Regions from separate parts of the Homo sapiens genome. Here regions 1 and 3 are each linked to region 2. Evidence: promoter capture Hi-C in 16 types of primary human blood cells and fetal thymus (Javierre and others, 2016). All regions are on one chromosome and are shown on one strand. The core of a region is centred on a gene start or on the middle of the fragment in contact, and the rest is flanking DNA. Distances in the headings are between cores, read along the strand shown. Region 1 overlaps SLAMF1 (signaling lymphocytic activation molecule family member 1). Region 2 holds the start of SLAMF7 (SLAM family member 7). Region 3 overlaps CD244 (CD244 molecule).

Evidence for each region. Contacts are between HindIII fragments. The CHiCAGO score rates a contact against its expected background, and 5 or more counts as called.
Region 1: a contact is called between a fragment that was not itself captured here and the fragment with the promoter of SLAMF7 in region 2, in 4 of 17 cell types (total CD8 T cells, naive CD4 T cells, activated CD4 T cells and 1 more). The highest score is 6.6, in total CD8 T cells.
Region 3: a fragment that was not itself captured here is called in contact with the fragment with the promoter of SLAMF7 in region 2 in 2 of 17 cell types (activated CD4 T cells and total B cells); the score reaches 5.4 in activated CD4 T cells.

What each region holds. Positions count from the first base shown.
Region 1 is chr1:160,619,142-160,622,869 of GRCh38, forward strand. It overlaps SLAMF1 (signaling lymphocytic activation molecule family member 1), which reads right to left. Exons shown (of 7, transcript NM_003037.5): 5 at 635-708. Among named protein-coding and RNA genes, the nearest start is that of SLAMF1, 26 kb to the right of the region's middle. The HindIII fragment of the contact is 1,693 bases long and covers 1,385-3,077 here.
Region 2 is chr1:160,737,127-160,740,496 of GRCh38, forward strand. It overlaps SLAMF7 (SLAM family member 7), which reads left to right and starts at 2,121. Exons shown (of 7, transcript NM_021181.5): 1 at 2,121-2,230. The coding sequence starts at 2,176. It overlaps LOC124904440 (a long non-coding RNA gene), which reads right to left and starts at 2,033. Exons shown (of 2, transcript XR_007066687.1): 1 at 1,957-2,033. The HindIII fragment of the contact is 11,353 bases long and covers 1-3,370 here.
Region 3 is chr1:160,840,157-160,843,463 of GRCh38, forward strand. It overlaps CD244 (CD244 molecule), which reads right to left. Exons shown (of 9, transcript NM_016382.4): 2 at 1,428-1,745; 3 at 1,054-1,329. Among named protein-coding and RNA genes, the nearest start is that of CD244, 21 kb to the right of the region's middle. The HindIII fragment of the contact is 2,302 bases long and covers 824-3,125 here.

The DNA.
Region 1 (3,728 bases), core at 981-3,480, 120 kb before region 2:
TTGAAAAACTACAGTGTCTCTACATCTAACCACGATCCTTTTAGCGTCTCTATCCCTTCCTTCAAGCATATCTGCTTCTCAACTTCACCATGCATCCAGTTTTTCCATCCTTCACTTCTTAGTCCAGTGATCACTCTGTCACAGTTTTCTTTCTTCCATCTCATCTTTCATCTCTTTAACCACACTCTAGCTAGAATTTTGAAGATCCTACCTTCCTTGTCACTTTTGCACTTAGTAAATCCTAAACTTGGATCAGTCCAACATGTCACACAATAGCTTTTCCAAACCTCCTCTCTCCTCAAGCCTGCACTCTTTTCCCTAGAAAAGGAAATAATTGACTAACATGGAACCTAGACTCCTACAATGCCAGAGCTGGAAAGAGTCATACAGTATGTATTTCCAGCTTCTTCATTTTTTTCCTGTGAAGACTCATGACCAGAAAATTATCCAGTGTTGCCCATTATTTCAAACACTGACGTTTAGTGACTTTAGGAGAACTCTTGTTCTTGACTCCTGTTCCCTACCTTCCTCTGCTCTGGATGGAAAACTGTGAATGTCCAACAGGCAAGGTAGACTGGCCAGGAATACTCTAGGAAACATGACAGGTTCATCTCAAACAAAATATAGAACTTACACCTGGTTTCTGGACTTGGGCATAGATCGTAAGGCTTTTTTTTTCCACTGTTGTCTGGTAATGGTTCGTTTTACCTGGTGAAAAGAAACCATAATGGTTATCTCCCTCTGGTCCCCAGCAGGAGCTCCTTACTCAGACCTGGTCTTTACTGTCCTTTGCATACCCACTTTCCCCAAGGGCACAATGGAAACAAAGCCCTGAGTCCCAGCCCCCCTGCACATTTGTCATATTGTCTTAGGTTAGTTACTTGATCACTCTAGGCCTATCTGTGAAATGGGATTTGAAATACCTGCCTCACGGGGCTGTTGTGATAATTAAATGAGATACCACTTGTAAAGTGTTTAGAACACTGCCTGGTGCATAACAAATGCCCAATACGCATTAGGTGTTTTTCTCATTGGTGTACCATTCAATTACTTTAATCTCTGTTGCTCAATGTGCATATCTGGTCTCCTAATAGGATTCTAAGTTCTTTGAGGGCAGGGCTAGTTGTTTATACCTCTTTTGTATTTTCCAGCTGGTAGTATGTTGCTTCACTCACAGCTTTCTCACCTCCCTATTTCTGGGGGAATTGATGTGTGGGAGGTAAGGGCGGGGGGACGTGTAAGAGGGATGTTCCACCTGGGACTATTTAGAAAATAAAGCAACAATGTCATTCTGTTGCCCACCATCTGGAAATTTTGCTCAGGGCCTAGGGTCTCTGGAAATTAATAAGTTGCAGAATATTTTAATTTTTAGCCAATTTTAAAAAGCTTTCTTTTTAAATTATAGGAGTAATTTATTCTCATCATAAAATAAAAATTGTGAAGAAATATATAAAGTATAAAGTAAAAAGTATAAATCCCCTTCTTCCATTAACCAACCCAATTTCATTCCCAAAAGAAACCGTATTTTTCAATACCTGTGAAAAGAAGTGGGAAAAAAAAGAAGAAACCATTTTTAAAAGTTTGATGTATATCCCTGTAGATCAGCTCTGTGCAACAGAACTTTCTGAGATGATGGAAATGTTCCATATCTGCAGTGTCTAATACAGCTTACAGACACGGGGCTATGGAGCACCTGAACTGTGACTAATGTCACTGAATTTTAAATTTTATTTAATTCAAATTAATTTAAATTTAAAAAGCCACATGTGGCTAGTGACTACCATATTAGACAATGCAGTTTTGGATATTTGCTATACTTATATAGACTTTTTTCCACACAAGAGGTGTCATTCTGCACACACTTCTCTGTAACTTGATCTTTTCACTTAAAATGTATTGAGGACATTTTTCATGTTAGCACAGTAGACCTATCTCATTCTTTCTAAAGTTGCACAGTATCCTTTGTATACATCATGCAGCAGTAAGGATGGTGGGAAAGTGGCAGACTGAAGGATGGAGGTTTATTATGGGATTATTGCAAAGTCCAGGCAGAGGCAATGGAGGCTGGACCCAGAAAATCACAGCCTTTAAGGTAGACTTATTTTAACACCAGTTAATTTATTCTCTTAAAAAACTGGGCTGGGTGCAGTGGCTCACGCCTATAATCACAGCACTATGGGAGGCTGAGGTGGGCAGATCACGAGGTCAGGAGTTTGAGACCAGCCTGGCCAACATGGGGAAACCCTGTCTCTACTAAAAATACAAAAATTAGCCAGGCATGGTGGCACGCGCTTATAATTTCAGCTACTCAGGAGGCTGAGACAGAAGAACTGCTTGAGCCCAGGAGACAGAGGTTGCAGTGAGCCGAGATCATGCCATTGCACTCCAGCCTGAGTGACAGAGCAAGAATCTATCTCAAAAAAAAAAAAAAAAAAAAAAAGGCACATCTCTGAGGAAATAGCATTTTTAGGAGAGGCACATTTTTCTTTGGAAGGGAAAGGCCCAGTGTGTATGTGGTGAGCATGGTGGAATGTGCTGCGTGAGGGTGTGAGTCTTGGGGAGGAAATGTGGGGCAGACACTGATGAAGTTCCAGGAATTCAAGGAAAGTCAACATGGGATTTTTTGTGTGTGGGTATGAGCACGGTGTGCCTAGTGGTTTCAACTTCGCTTTTTTGGTCAGAGTTGATCCTGACTGAGGAGTGTGCGTGAGTGCGTGTGTGTGTGTGTGTGTGTGTGTGTGTGTGTAAAATGGAGGGGAGGACTCAAGAAGCAGTTGGAGGTAGCAGAGGAGGTTCAAGTTAGTCCCCACGAGTGTTTGCAAAGTAAGACATGCCTGCCCAGCACTCTCCTAGGTGCTGTAGTGGCTACAAATAGAGTAGAGAACAGACTACAGTCCTCAAAGACTTTCAGTCTTGCAGGTCAGCTCAGAGTCAAATGTAGAACTGGAAGGACAGTCCTAAATGGTCAGACAGATGGAAGAGGTGAGGTTGATTGTTGCTGCTTAAAAGGACCATTGGACCAAGATAATTTAGTCTCAGGTTATTTTCCCCAGTGCAAGAACAGGTTTTTAGGAGTAAGCTTAACTCGGCTCCAAGTCAGCAAGGTCTTAGGCTCTAAGGAAAAAGTCTTGGCCTTAAAATTAGGACATCTACATTGTAGCCATCATTAGCTGTGTGGCATTGGACAAATCACGTCATCTCAATGGGTCTTTTCTCTTACCATAACTGTAAAATGAGGGCATAGAGTATCTAATATCCTTTTCAGCTTTTACCTGAAGCATAAAGTCTTATGTTACCATGACTTAAAATATTTTCAATCTGTTCTAGGTATTGTTTCCAGATGCTTCCAGTGCAGCTTCTCCTGGCCATAGCACTTACACATTGCCATTTTAATTCATCTACACTAAGAGATCTGTCTATCTGTCTATGTATCTATCTGTCTATGTATCTATCTATCTATCACCCATCGATGGGAACCACTGTGTTCAGTGTTTTCTGTGTATTGATACCAATCTCCACCACAATACCATGAAGTACATAGTATTACCCCTGTTTTGCAGACGAGAAGTTAAGTCATTTGATCACACAGCTTGTCAGTAGCAAAATCTGCATCTGAATGTAAGTTTGTCTAATGCCTATACCCACATTCTTTATCAGTGTATTCTCCTGGACATGAAATTGCCAAAGAGTCATGAAATTGAAAAGCCTTCAGCGTCAGGCTGCATTCT
Region 2 (3,370 bases), core at 871-3,370:
TAGAGAAAAATGACACATTACCTACAGGGAAAACAACTTAAATGACGGCTGATTTCTCACTGGAAACCATGGAGGGGAGGAGTGTCATGACACTTTTCAAGTGTTGAAAGAAAAAAAACTGTCAACCTAGAATTTTATACCCAGGAATGAGGGTTAAATCAAGACATTCTCAGGTGAAGGAAAACTAAGATAATTTGTTATCAGCAGGCTTATCATAAAAGAATTCCTAAAGAATATCTTGAAACAGAAAGAAATGATTAAAGAAGAAAACTTGAAGGCTGGGTGTGGTGGCTCATACCTGTAATCCCAGCACTTTGGGAGGCCAAAGTTGGTGGATCACCTGAGGTCAGGAGTTTGAGACTAGCCTGGCCAACATGGCGAAACCTGATCTCTACTAAAAGTACAAAAAGTAGGTGGGCATGGTGGCATGAGCCTGTAGTCCCAGCTACTCAGGAGGCTGAGGCAGGAGAATCGCTTGAACCCAGGAGGCGGAGATTGCAGTGAGCCAAGATCATGCCACTACACTCCAGCCTGTATGACAGAGCAAGACTTCGTCCAAAAAAAAATAAAAAGAAGGAAACTTGAAACATTAGAAATAAAGAAATAACAATGAAAAGAGTTAAAATATGGGTAAATGTAATGGATTGTCCTTCTCCTCTTGAGTGTTCTGAATTATGTTCAACAATTGAAGCAAAACTTATAATCTTACCGATATGGTTCTCAATGAATATAGACAATATATTTAAGACAAGTATAAAGATAGACTAATAAAGAAACCTAATATAGGTAAGTTTTCTATACCTAGTTCAACTGGTAAAATGTCAACACTGATAGGTAGATCAAAAGTTATGTATGTAAAATGCAATATGTACAGCAACCAGTAAAAAAACTCTTCAAAAAGATACATTATAGATAAATCAAAATGGAATTATAAAAAATATTCCAGTAACACACAGGATGGCCAGGAAAGTGAAACAGAGGAACAAAATAAACAAACAAAAGCCCAGAAGAACAAAGAGAAAATAATAACATGGCAAACTTAAGCTCTGATATATAAATAATTACATTATGTAAGTCAGTTAAATAGAATAGATAGCTCCAGAATATACCCACACAAGTATAAGTGCTGATTTTTGATAAAGATACAAAAGTAATTCAATGTAGGAAAGATCATCTTTTCCATCACATGGTAGTAGAACAATTGAACACCCACAGGCAGAAGAAAAAAAAACACGCACATTGTAATCATACTTCTGAAAACCAAAGGCAAACAAAAAACTTTTAAAACAGCTAGAGAAAAATGACACATTACCTATAGGGAAAACAATTTAAATGATGGCTGATTTCTCACTGGAAACCATGGAGGGGAGGAGTGTCATGACACTTTTCAAGTGTCGAAAGCAAAAAAAAACTGTCAACCATATTACCTGATATGGTTCTCAATGAATATAGACAATATATTTAGGTGAATCTCAACCTAAACTTCACACCTTACATTAAAACAGGATCATACATTTAAATGTAAAACATAAAACTATAAAACTTTCAGGAGAAAACCTTTGGACCCTAGTGTGGGTAGAAAAAAAACTGATAAGTTGAATTTCATCAAAATTAAAATTTTTGCTCTGCCAAAGACCCCGTTAAGAAGATGAAAAGACAGGCTACAGACCAAGAGAAAATATTTGTAAACCACATATCTGACAAATGACTCTTATACTTGGAACATATAAGGAATTGTCAAAGCTCAACAGTAAAAAAAATAAAGAATCTGATTATAAAATGGACAAAAGACATAAATAGACATTTCACCAAGGAGGATATGGATATATAGATGGCAAATAAGCACATGAAAAGATGTTCAACATTATTAGGCTTTAGGGAAATGCAAATTAAAGCCACAATGAGGTATCACTACAGCACCTATTAAAACAGCTAAAATATAAAATGGGAATATACCAAATGCTGATGAAGATGGGGAGCAAATAGATCTCTCATAGATTGCTGGTGGCAAGGTAAAATGCTCTATTCACTCTGAAAATAATTTAGCAATTACTCAATCTCACATGTCTGCGGCGTGACCCCTCCTGCTTCTTTAAATATCAGCTGGGGAAGAGGTCTGAGTAATACCTAAGAGGGAAGTGGCTTCATTTCAGTGGCTGACTTCCAGAGAGCAATATGGCTGGTTCCCCAACATGCCTCACCCTCATCTATATCCTTTGGCAGCTCACAGGTGAGTCCGGCCGGATTCTCTTCCACTCTCCTGTCTACCCCATCCTGAATAGTTCCAGGTTTCTTGTTCCACTCTGGGCCTCTGGCTCAACTCGGGAGGCTCTGTGTTCTCATCTAACATTTGCTTTTTATCAATCTCTGATCTCTGATTCTCAGGTCAGGAAGAGACTAGAGAGAGGGGGAAAAATGGCTCTGGGAACTGACTCCCCTGTTGACTGTCCCAGGGATGAAGGAGCTGAAAGAAGTGGTGCTGGGTATCAGAGACCATTTTTCTAATCCAGGTTCTGCCATGAGTTAGATAAGGAATGTTAAAGTTTTCCTGGGCCTCAGAAACTTTATCTTCTAGCCTTCTCTCCTTTTGAGGGCAACTTTAAGAACAAGATGATACTATACAGGTATGTATTTATTTACTTATAAATGTATTTATAAAATTGGTTATGCATAACAGTAATATAAATGGAAAGAATCACTTGAATTTTCTTTCCTTACTCAAGCAATGTAATCAGTCTCTACTTAGAGAACCAACTCATACCATAGGCACTTTATGTTTAATCCCATGGAGGACAGAGGACAGTTCTCCACCTGTCACTGGTATTCTAGTCTTTGAAGATTTTTCTATCCTAAGGGCTCTCAGAAAGGATCAGGAGCCCTATAAGTGAGAAATATCTCTTCTGTCATCAATCTCATGGAGTACTACCATGAGGTCCCCCTATAAGGACTTCACATAACTGCTTCATTATGTGTATCTGAGCCTGCCTGGAGTGATCTGCCCAAGACCACGCAGGCAGCTGGTGCCCCCAATATTTTCCCCTGCATCGCTAAGTGGTCAGCATCAGCAGACTCTTACCCACTTTGAATTCATCAGAAGTTTGTATTTTTGAGAGGTACCTGGGTCTAACCAGGTGGTTCTGGAATAGGCCCTCACTTTAAAAAAAAAAAACAAAAAAAAAACTCCCTGAACGGAAATGATGAGCAGAAATAGAACTTGAGGGAGATAAGGTGGAGGGGTTGGGGAAAATTATAGAGACTTTGAAAGCTACAGGTGTCCATCTGAAATCAGTCAGCGAAAGAGCACAAGTATGAAAAACTGCCATGCAGGTCCCCCTCTGCCCTCCTCCAGAGGCAGCCTGTGTAGTGTACC
Region 3 (3,307 bases), core at 725-3,224, 100 kb after region 2:
TGGGATTACACCATATTGTCCAGGCTGGTCTCAAACACCTGGACTCAAGTGATCCACCTGCCTCAGCCTCCCAAAGTGCTAGGATTACATGTGTGAGCCACCACACCTGACCTCTAAGAGATCACAGAGCTTCTGAATGATGAAGCCAGTGTCCTAGTTCAGTGGCATGATCTTGACTCACTGCAACCTCCGCCTCCTGGGTTCAAGCAATTCTCCTGCCTCAGCCTCCTGAGTAGCTGAGATTACAGGTGCCCGCCAACACGCCCAGCTAATTTTTTGTATTTTTAGTAGAGACAGGGTTTCACCATGTTGGCCAGGCTGGTCTCAAACTCCTGACCTTGTGATCCACCCACCTCAGCCTCCCAAAGTGCTGGGATTACAGGGAGCCACTGCGCCCGGCCTGCCTCAGTCTTGTTTCTTTTTTGTCCACAAGTAGTTATTTTTGTTGCCCCATTTGGCTATAAGTTCCTTATGAATGAGAGCTGTATGGTTTTTTTTTCCTATAATGCCCATGCTGCTGGTACATTAAGTCCCTGTTTATGTAATAAAAAGTTGTGGAACGGTAACTCAGGTAACTCTTAGGATGAGCATAAGCAACAGCCCAAGAACTCATCTAGGTATCCCTGGGGTCATCCTGATGCTCCTGCTCCAGGCTACTGCTGCACAGTGTAGTTACCTCTTGAACTATGTGGCTTGGAGAAAGTTATCACTCAAGAGGAGAGGACAGTTCTCCATCAGCCTCTCCCAGGAAGAAAATAATGTTCAGGAGCCATTTCAGGACTGTCACTCACCAAACAACTATGCCCTCCCTCTGCAGAAGAAAAGCTTGCATCTCCCAGAAGGAAATAGGGATAACATTTTTTTCCAGAGTAGGATAGGCCTAGCTTTACAGGAACTGTGTGCCTGGAGGCCAGGGCTACCCTGGGAAGGGCTACAAGGCACTGGGAGAGGAGGCCAAGGGATTTTATCTCATACCACATCTGTCTTGCACATGAGCCTGGTTGCGGGGTCCAAACCTTCAGCGCTTGTTATAGCCCAGTGTGTTCCACTTACCCTGATGGGCATTCTGACAGTCCTGAGTGAGATTCAGGGTGTGGCTTTCCCAGCTAACAGGATTGCTGACATTGCAGGTATATGTGTGAGTGCCATTAATGTCAACCTCCTCGTCCAGGTAGGTGAGGTTCCCTGCTGTCTGGATCAGCTTGCTCCCTCTGTACCAAGCATAGGACACATTGCCATCCCTGGAGACCAAGCAAGACAGAGCCACTTGGCATCTCCCTCTGTCCAGGATCTTCCCCTGCCCCTGTAGGCGGGGTTTCTCAACTTTATCTGGAAGCAGAGATTCTGATCAGAAAGGCATTGGAAATACAGAACTTAGAGGCCTATAGGAATCAGAGAGGGCAGTATGAACAGTCCTGGAGACTTACCAAATACAAAAACCTGGAACGTGGCTGTCTGAACTTTTCCAGATATACTGGTGACCTCCAGGCAGTAGAGGCCACTGTCCTGCTGCTGAGCTGCCTTGATGAGAAGACTCAAGTTCTTGACTATAAAACTGAATCTATCATTGGAAGTATTGGAAGGCAAAGAGCCATTCTCCCACTTCAATATGTGATGAAATCCATTTTGTGAGGGCAGCAACTTCTTCCATGCAATGCTGTCAACCTTCGTCTGTATGCTGTTTGGTTGTAACTGAAGAGGCACTCCCGAGATGCTAACCACATGGTCAGCTGATCCCTGGCATCCTAGGAAAGAGAACCCAAGCTGAAAGTAGCGGGAAGAGTGTCAGGCCTGAGCAATGTGGGCAGCTGGATGTGACTTCCCTTAAGCCAATTGGGTGGGGATGAGTATGAGGAGCCCAGAACCTAGGAGCACCTTAAAGCATATCCCCTCCATCTGCCTCCCCTTGTCCCCAAGCTCTGTGTCCCTAGTCTGAGGGATCCCATAGACCAATAGCTAAAATCTTGAGTACTTACTATGTGACAGGCAGGTTTCACACTTTATACATTTTAACTATTTAAGTTAAAAGGTATGATGAGTTAAAAGAATGATGAGCCTGAAACCTAGTCAGTTTGGTGTTATGTTTTTGTTTTCTTTTGTTTTGTTTTCTAGAGACAGGGTCTCACTCTGTCACCCAGGCTGGAGTGCAGTGGCGCAATCACAGCTCACTGCAGCCTTGAACTCCTGGGCTTGAGGTGATCCTCCCATCTCAACCTCCCTAGTAGCTGGGAGCACAGGTGCTAGGGAGCTTATTTGTTTACTCTTTGTAAAGACAGCAGTTTGGCTTGAGAGGATAAATTCTTAACCATGATGCTATAAATACCACATCTAAGGTGACTCCCTCCAAGCAGTGCTGAGGCAACTACTAATGGCAAGTAGTGACTGTTGGAAATTCTGAATGGTCAGGCCCAGGAAGACTAACCGTCCAAGCTGAACTCATGGCCCCTCAACCATCCTCTCACAGAGCTGAATACATAATCCTCTCTCGTGGCACTTGGTTCATTGGATTTTGGTCATTACTTATTGATGTTTGCCAGTTTTTCAGTGATCAGAAAGTCTCCACAAAAATTTCTCCCTAGAAAACAATTTTAAAAATAAAACTACACTTCCCAGGCAGATCCCAGCACTTGCCTCTCAAAGAATCAAGATGAAACCTAATGAATATGGGGGTGTGACAACCTAGAGCAATTCTGTGCAGTCAGTGTACAAAACTGGAAGTTCCTACAGCCATTTTTAGTAATAAAGCTATGTGGCATGGCCCAGCAGGTGCAGGAAATTAAAAAGTCTCTCTGGGTGAGTTGGGGAGGCTCAGGGAGGATTTGGAAGAGAAAATAAGAGATGGGGAGAGTTTTACAAGTGGCTCCGTTAAAATGGAGGCTATTAAGAAGAGAGCAATTGAGACAGAGGGGTTTTTATATGTCCAGTGCATTATGAATGCAGTCTCTCCAAGCCACAGCTTCACCCTGGCATTTTCTCAAGAGACTAAGTAAATAATTAAAGGACTTGTAATACTATTTGTTTGATGAAATATGTTTCTTTGATCTTGATGCTCCTAAGACTAAAACACATAGGTTCCCATTTATATTTATATGACTTGTACTGGCTCTGCCCATTAGCAAACCAAAAGCTTCTCAAAAGCAGAGACTGTGCTGTGCATCTCTGTGTCTCTGTCTCCTACGATCCTAGCACTATTTATAAGAACAAGTCAACCTACCAAATATTGCACAAAGACCCTGAGAACAAAGGTGAATGGAAAAAATCATTACTAAACCTACAAGGAGGACATATACTGTCTTCATCAATTATT